2 separate regions of the Homo sapiens genome follow, and region 2 is linked to region 1. Evidence: promoter capture Hi-C in human tissues and cell types (Jung and others, 2019). All regions are on one chromosome and are shown on one strand. Each heading gives the region's core, a stretch centred on a gene start or on the middle of the fragment in contact. The rest is flanking DNA. Distances are from core to core; before and after follow the strand shown.

The links. The method cuts DNA at HindIII sites, captures the fragments that hold promoters and counts their contacts. A contact is called where the count stands out against the background at its distance.
Region 2: a contact is called between a fragment that was not itself captured here and the fragment with the promoter of SCGB1D2 in region 1, in 2 of the 25 tissues and cell types used here (dorsolateral prefrontal cortex and pancreas).

Annotation. Positions count from the first base shown.
Region 1 is chr11:62,240,567-62,244,218 of GRCh38, forward strand. SCGB1D2 (secretoglobin family 1D member 2) reads left to right here and starts at 1,673. Exons shown (of 3, transcript NM_006551.4): 1 at 1,673-1,796; 2 at 2,723-2,910. The coding sequence starts at 1,742. The HindIII fragment of the contact is 7,638 bases long and covers 1-3,652 here.
Region 2 is chr11:62,161,583-62,165,234 of GRCh38, forward strand. No RefSeq gene overlaps it. Among named protein-coding and RNA genes, the nearest start is that of SCGB1D1, 27 kb to the right of the region's middle. The HindIII fragment of the contact is 4,748 bases long and covers 1-3,652 here.

The DNA.
Region 1 (3,652 bases), core at 423-2,922:
CATATAAACAGAACCAATGAAAAAATCACATGATTATGTAAACTAGTTCAACCATTGTGGAAGTCAGTGTGGCGATTCCTCAGGGACCTTGAACTAGAAATACCATTTGACCCAGCGATCCCATTACTGGGTATATACCCAAAGGATTATAAATCATGCTGCTATAAAGACGCATGCACACGTATGTTTATTGCAGCACTATTCACAATAGCAAAGTCTTGGAACCAACCCAAATGTCCAACAATGATAGACTGGATTAAAAAAATGTGGCACATATACACCACGGAATACTATGCAGCCATAAAAAATGATGAGTTCATGTCCTTTGTAGGGACATGGATGAAGCTGGAAACCATCATTCTCAGCAAACTATCGCAAGGACAAAAAAACAAACACCGCGTGTTCTCACTCATAGGTGGGAATTGAACAATGAGAACACATGGACACAGGAAGGGGAACAGCACACACCAGGGACTGTTGTGGGGTGGGGGGAGGGGGGAGGGATAGCATTAGGAGATATACCTAATGTTAAATGATGAGTTAATTGGTGCAGCACACCAACATGGCACATGTATACATATGTAGCTAACCTGCACGTTGTGCACACGTACCCTAAAACTTAAAGTATAATAACAAAAAAGAGAGAGAAATTTCTAGTGATTGATTTCCTGCTCACACCACACAAAGGCATCACAGCAGGAGGGCAGGAGGGTGTGTATTGCTTTGTCTGGGTGCTTCCTTCCCTTTCTATTAAAAATGGGATTGGCTCAGGCTGCACAGCTAGATTTGAAGTGGAAAACTTGAGCCTAGAGGTTGGGGGGAAGTGACCACTCACCCTGATCATCTGTCTCTTCTTTTCCATCTTCTTCCCCTCCTGGAGCCCCAGAGCAAAGAACTCTCAGTACCTGTCCGATGCATGATTGGCTCTGGACACTCCAAAAGCTACTTGGAAAAAGTTAGGCTATGTAATCATCAGGTCAACCCATCAACATGTGGGTGGCTACACATCACAGAAAGCTTGCTCCTCGTAGAGAGAAAATGTGAGTCTTGGCCATATTTATAGCTGCACTCATAAACAAGACTCAGGTTTGGGAGTGAGACAGGCTAGAGAACAGGTGCAGCAGTTGCTTTTCCCCAGGAAATCCTCCAAAGGTAAGATGCATTGAACTAGGTTTTAGGTACCTATGCAGTGAACATGGTGGTGATGGGAGGGGCTGAGGGGAATAGGTCTTGTTTAGACTTGCTCAATGTGCAACTGAAACAAGCCTACTGGTTGTCAGACATGCAGGGGGATCAAAGCAGGGTTTCCTTATGTCCCTGCTCCCCCATAACCAGAACACAGCCTTCCAGCTTCCTGTGCCTTCCAAAGTCAGAATTTACCTGTGCCCTTGAACTGATACAAAGAAAAAAAATAATCAGCAAAACTCAGAAGGAAACAGAATCCCAGGAATATTTCCAGAGGTGCCTGAACATTCACCTGGAACACAGAGCAGAGTTCCTGCAGGGCTACCCTCCTGTGCTCTGCCCCAGTCAGAGTGCAGGGAGGCGTGGGGAGGTGACACAGATGGATGGCAACAGCCCTGGGAAGGAGAGGTGGGCTGGGAGCCAGGCCTCATGACCAGTACCAGCTAGACTCCCTAGGTACAAATAGCCCTGGGCTCTGCAGCTCCACAGGCTCCTGGGGTGGAGTCCAAATCACTCATTGTTTGTGAAAGCTGAGCTCACAGCAAAACAAGCCACCATGAAGCTGTCGGTGTGTCTCCTGCTGGTCACGCTGGCCCTCTGCTGCTACCAGGGTGAGTACATCAGTCATGAGTCTAGCTCCAGCCCCTGGGAAGCACCCTCTTCCAAGCACGAGGTCACCTATTCAGGCTGGGGTTAGGATCTGCACAAAACCAAAATTCCAAACCTTTTTCTGTGCTTGTTGAACAAGCCCCTCATCAAGTTCAGAGCTATTTCTTCTACTCCCCAGCACCTACGAAGTTTTATTGAAAATCAGTGCAGGCAAATATTAGGAATTCTTCTGCCTGAGCTTCACTCCTGGGTGGGATCTGTGTCAGATGATGTAATGTGAGGTCTGGGGTGAATCTGGGATCCGCCACTTCCCAGCCCTTTGACCTTGGGCACAATGCTCACCCTCCCTGAGCCTCCTCCTATCACTGGTAGTTAGCGCTTCTGCCAGGAGAGGCTATGAGAATGGAGTAAGAAAGATTAATACTGTCAAAAGAGTCTAGCTGTGGGCTAAGCATGGCGGCTCATGCCTGTAATCCTAGCACTTTGGAAGGTCAAGGAGAGTGAATTGCTTGAGCTCAGGAGTTTGAGTCCGGCCTAGGCAACGTGGCGAAACTCCAGCTTTACCAAAAGAAATATGAAAAATCAGCTGGACGTGGTGACATGCACCAGTAGTCTCAGCTACTTAGGGGGCTGAGATGGGGATATCGCTTGAGCCCAGGAGGTAGAGGCTGCAGTGAGCCATGATTGAGCTACTGAATTCCAGCCTGGGTGACAAAGGGAAAAAAAAGAGTTTGGCTGTTGATATGAAGTGCTTTCCTTTATTGTGAGAGCTTGAGGAAGTCACACCTGAAGGGTCTGGCATTGTCATCAGCACAACAAATGTATGTGAACATATAACCCAGGGGATCCTGTCTGGTCTAACGTCAGGGAGCCAAAGAGAAAAATCGACTTTCCTAACATCAACTATATTTTTATTCTTTTGCTGCAGCCAATGCCGAGTTCTGCCCAGCTCTTGTTTCTGAGCTGTTAGACTTCTTCTTCATTAGTGAACCTCTGTTCAAGTTAAGTCTTGCCAAATTTGATGCCCCTCCGGAAGCTGTTGCAGCCAAGTTAGGAGTGAAGAGATGCACGGATCAGATGTCCCTTCAGAAACGAAGCCTCATTGCGGAAGTCCTGGTAACTTCTTTCTCCTTTATTTGTTAAGGCTTCTGGTCAGCTGCACAGTATGAAGTGAGGTCAGCTTGCTGCTCTGTTGGGGACACAGGTGGTGGGGCAGCTGCCTTGCTGGTCACCTCTTGAGAAGGTCACCTGGGGCCACAGGGTGGGTGCCACCATTTCACCTGCAGAATTCAACTCAGCTGCACACAGCCTCCTGCATGTTCCTCCTTCTCATGTCACCTGCCTGGATGCCATGTCCCCAGAGTGTGCTGAGGACATGGGGAGTGAGCCTGGGCCCAGGCAGAAATGGTAAAGGGCCAAGCATGGCCGCCTCGCTGCTGGGAGCTTTCCTGAGACCAAACTGCCCTCATGTAATGGACACAGTCACTGTGGAATGTCCTGGGGAGCATGGGAGCCTTGAACAGGGAGAGGAAGGCAGGGAGGGACATAGAGCAGGGGCTCCTGCAGATGTAGCACTGGCAGGCTGGACTTCTCTGCAGCTTCTGCAGAGCCAGGAAGGAGCCCCTCCCAGCTCCTGAGACCCCATACTCCCCTCCACACCCACGACACTCTCCTGACCATGGCCAGTCGTCCAAGACCCTAGCTAGTCTACCTCCTGCAGTGCCATGGAAGCGGGATGTTCTCACTCTGTCTTTCTCAAGAAATCAGAGGTTTTCCAGGGGCCTCTCTGCCTGGCTGCCTCTGAGTTGCTGTCCTGAGGTTTAGCTGCAAATGCTCATGGAAGCTGCAGGCTCGGGAC
Region 2 (3,652 bases), core at 797-3,296, 79 kb before region 1:
AATGGAACAGAACAGAGGCCTCAGAAATAACACCACACATCTACAACCATCTGATCTTTGACAACCCTGACAAAAACAAGCAATGGGGAAAGGATTCCCTATTTAATACATGGTGTTGGGAAAACTGGTAGCCATATTCAGAAAACTGAAACTGGACCCCTTCCTTACAGCTTATACAAAAATTAACTCAAGATGGATTAAAGACTTAAATGTAAGACCTAAAACCATAAAAATGATAGAAGATTCTTAGGCAATACCATTCAAGACATAGGTATGGGCAAAGAGTTCATGTCTAAAACACCAAAAGCAATGGCAACAAAAGTCAAAATTGACAAATGGGATATAATTAAACTAAAAAGCTTCTGCACAGCAAAAGAAACTATCATCAGAGTGAACAGGCAATCTACAGAATGGGAGAAAATTTTTGCAATTTATCCATCTGCCAAAGGGCTGATATCCAGAATCTACAAAGAACTTAAACAAATTTACAAGAAACAAACAAACAACCCCATTAAAAAGTGGGCAAAGGATATGAACAGACACTTCTCAAAAGAAGACATTTATGCAGCCAACAAACATGAAAAAAAGCTCATCATCACTGGTCATTAGAGAAATGCAAATCAAAACCACAATTAGATACCATCTCACACCAGTTAGAATGGTGATTATTAAAGTCAGGAAATAACAGGTGCTGGTGAGGATGTGGAGAAATAGGAACACTTTTACTATCAGTGGGAGTGTAAATTAGTTCAACCATTGTGGAAGACAGTGTGGCGATTCCTCAGGGATCTAGAACTAGAAATACCATTCTGTCCAGCAATCCCATTAGTGGGTATATACCCAAAGGATTTTAAATCATTCTACCATAAAGACACATGCACATGTATGTTTATTGCGGCACTATTCACAACAACAAAGACTTGGAACCAACCTAAATGTCCATCAATGATAGATTGGATAAAGAAAATCTTGCACATATACACCATGGAATACTTTGCAGCCATAAAAAAGGACGAGTTAATGTCCTTTGCAGGGACATGAATGAAGCTGGAAACCATCATCCTCAGCAAACTAACACAGGAACAGAAAACCAAACACTGCACGTTCTCACTCATAAGTGGGAGATGAACAAGGAGAACACATGGACACAGCGAGGGGAACATCACACACTGGGGCCTGTCGGCAGGTGAGAAGCTAGGGGAGGGATAGCATTAAAAGAAATACCTAATGTAGGTGACGAGTTGATGGGTGCAGCAAACCACCATGGCACATGTATGCCTATGTAACAAAACTGCACATTCTGCACCTGTACCTCAGAATTTAAAGTATAATAAGTAAATAAATAAATAAGAAAACAGGAGAAAATCCTAGTGTCTTTGTGTTTGGCACAGGTTTTTTACATATGACACCAAAAGTGTGAACTATAAAAGCAAAAGTCAATTGGACTTCATCAAAATTAGAAACTTTTGCTCTTTAAAAGTTACTGTTACTCAGCATCTTTCATTCTGCCCCGGGGTGGGATGGTACAAATAGCCCATCCTGCCGTATTCTCAGGAATAGAACGGGGCTTGATCCTCACCACTTGGTTAGGATGAAGATGAGAAAACCTGGGATTATCCAGGCTTTCTTGCTTCAGTAGGACCCATTTATGGATGCTAACCCCACCCTTCACTGTAGCCCACCCCGTTGCATGCCTGGCACATTTCCTCTTGTCAAGTACCTGCTAGCTACCTGCCATGTGAGGCTTTTCCTGTCTCCCTTAAGTAAACTAAGCCACAGCTTTTTTCTGGCTCCATCTGGGCTTTTCACAGCACATGCCTAGTCCACGTGTTGCAGTGGGATCTGGGGCCTTGAACTGTGGGTACCACTTGCTACTGAGCAACTGTGGCTGCTGGCTGAGTTCTGCGGGGGCAAGACCCATAGCAGCCTTTCTTCCCTCTGGGCTTCCATGGTGCAAACATTCCTCCAGGTTTAAGAAAGAAGAAAGAGCAGGCATGAGAAGGAAAGTGGGCTGTAACCTGTATTCCAAGGGATTGCAAACAATGCAGATCGCAGGTTATTCTCCTATCTGAACCTCTTGGAGCTTGATTCTGAGGCTTCCTTGGACATCTATAGAAACCTGGGTAGCAGCACTCAGAGCTAAGCTGAGTTACCTGATGCCTGAAGCACCTGCTCTGTACTCCTTACAGTGCTCACTGCTCTGAGCCAGCAAAGTAGAAAGTAACTTACATGGCCAACCCCAACCACATCCCCACTCCTGTCCAGTAATTTTGAATGTTCTCAACCAAAGAGATCTACCCTGCATGCTGGAAGGAGGAAGTAAACTACAGCTTGCAAAGGGGAGTTCTTTTTTGTTTTTGTTTTTTTCCTTTCTGAGACAGAGTTTCACTCTTGTTGCCCAGACTGGAGTGCAATGGTGCAATCTCAGCTCACTGCAACCTCCGCCTCCCGAGTTCAAGTGATTTTCCTGTCTCAGCCTCCCTAGTAGCTGGGATTACAGGCACATACCACCATGCCTGGATAATTTTGTATTTTTAGTAGAGATGGGGTTTCACCATGTTGGCCTGACTGGTCTCGAACTCGCGACCTCAGGTGATCCACCCACCTCGGACTCCCAAAGTGCTGGGATTACAGGTGTGAGCCACCACACCCGGCCAGGGGGGCTTTTAAAGTGCCTTTTAAGTAGTCATTCCTTTGTGGGGGTATTTGCTTTTATTGCAGTTTATTAAGCCTGAAACAGCTGACATGAAGATGGATACTTTGACTCAGGTTTGGTTGCCTGATCCATGAAGCTTTAATCTTACTTGCCCACAGATACACACACACATACCCCTACCTGTATTAATTTGCACTTTAAATATGCCCATTCCTCTGCTATTATGATATAGGAAAGTTGATAGTATCAGATTAATTTCAGGTGAACTATTCTACCTATAAAAGAATAGGAGCTAATAGGAGCTCCTATAAAAGAACAGGAGCTAATAACCCATGAAAGCTATGACGGTTTTTTTTTTTTTTGGATCTCTATTCTTCCTGCCAGCTCTGCCCCTGGCCTGGCAGGATTGGTTGAGTGGGGAATTGGTCCTTGAGAATTGGAGTAAGGGATCTTGAGGAATGTGTTTAGTGTCTTTGAGTTGTGATTTGAGAATAACAGAGGCAGGAGCCCTCTGCAGGGCTCCTGTCCTACTTGCCCCTGGGACACTGTAATAAGACAAGTATGGATTATGCCCAGTGAGGACTCCTATAACTAATTATTTAACTCAGAAAGTGCCCCAGAGGTGCTGGGGGTGCAGCAGAAAGGACTGGAGGGGTGCAGCCACTACTGCGGGAATGGTAGGGAAAGGGGCTAGGGGCTAGGGGCTAGAGGCCTTCTGCCCCAGTTATCTTATGTGGTGTTTTTTGTTTTGTTTTGTTTTGTTTTGTTTTGTTAGTTTGTTTGTTTGTTTTTTGAGAAGGAGTCTCGCTCTGTCACCCAGGCTGGAGTGCAGTGGCATGATCTCGGCTCACTGCAACCTCTGCCTCCTGAGTTCAAGCTATTCTCCTGCCTCAGCCTCCCGAGTAGCTGGGCTTACAGGCATCCGCCACCATGCCTGGCTAATTTTTGTGTTTTCAGTAGAGATGGGGTTTCTCCATGTTTGTCGGCCAGGCTGGT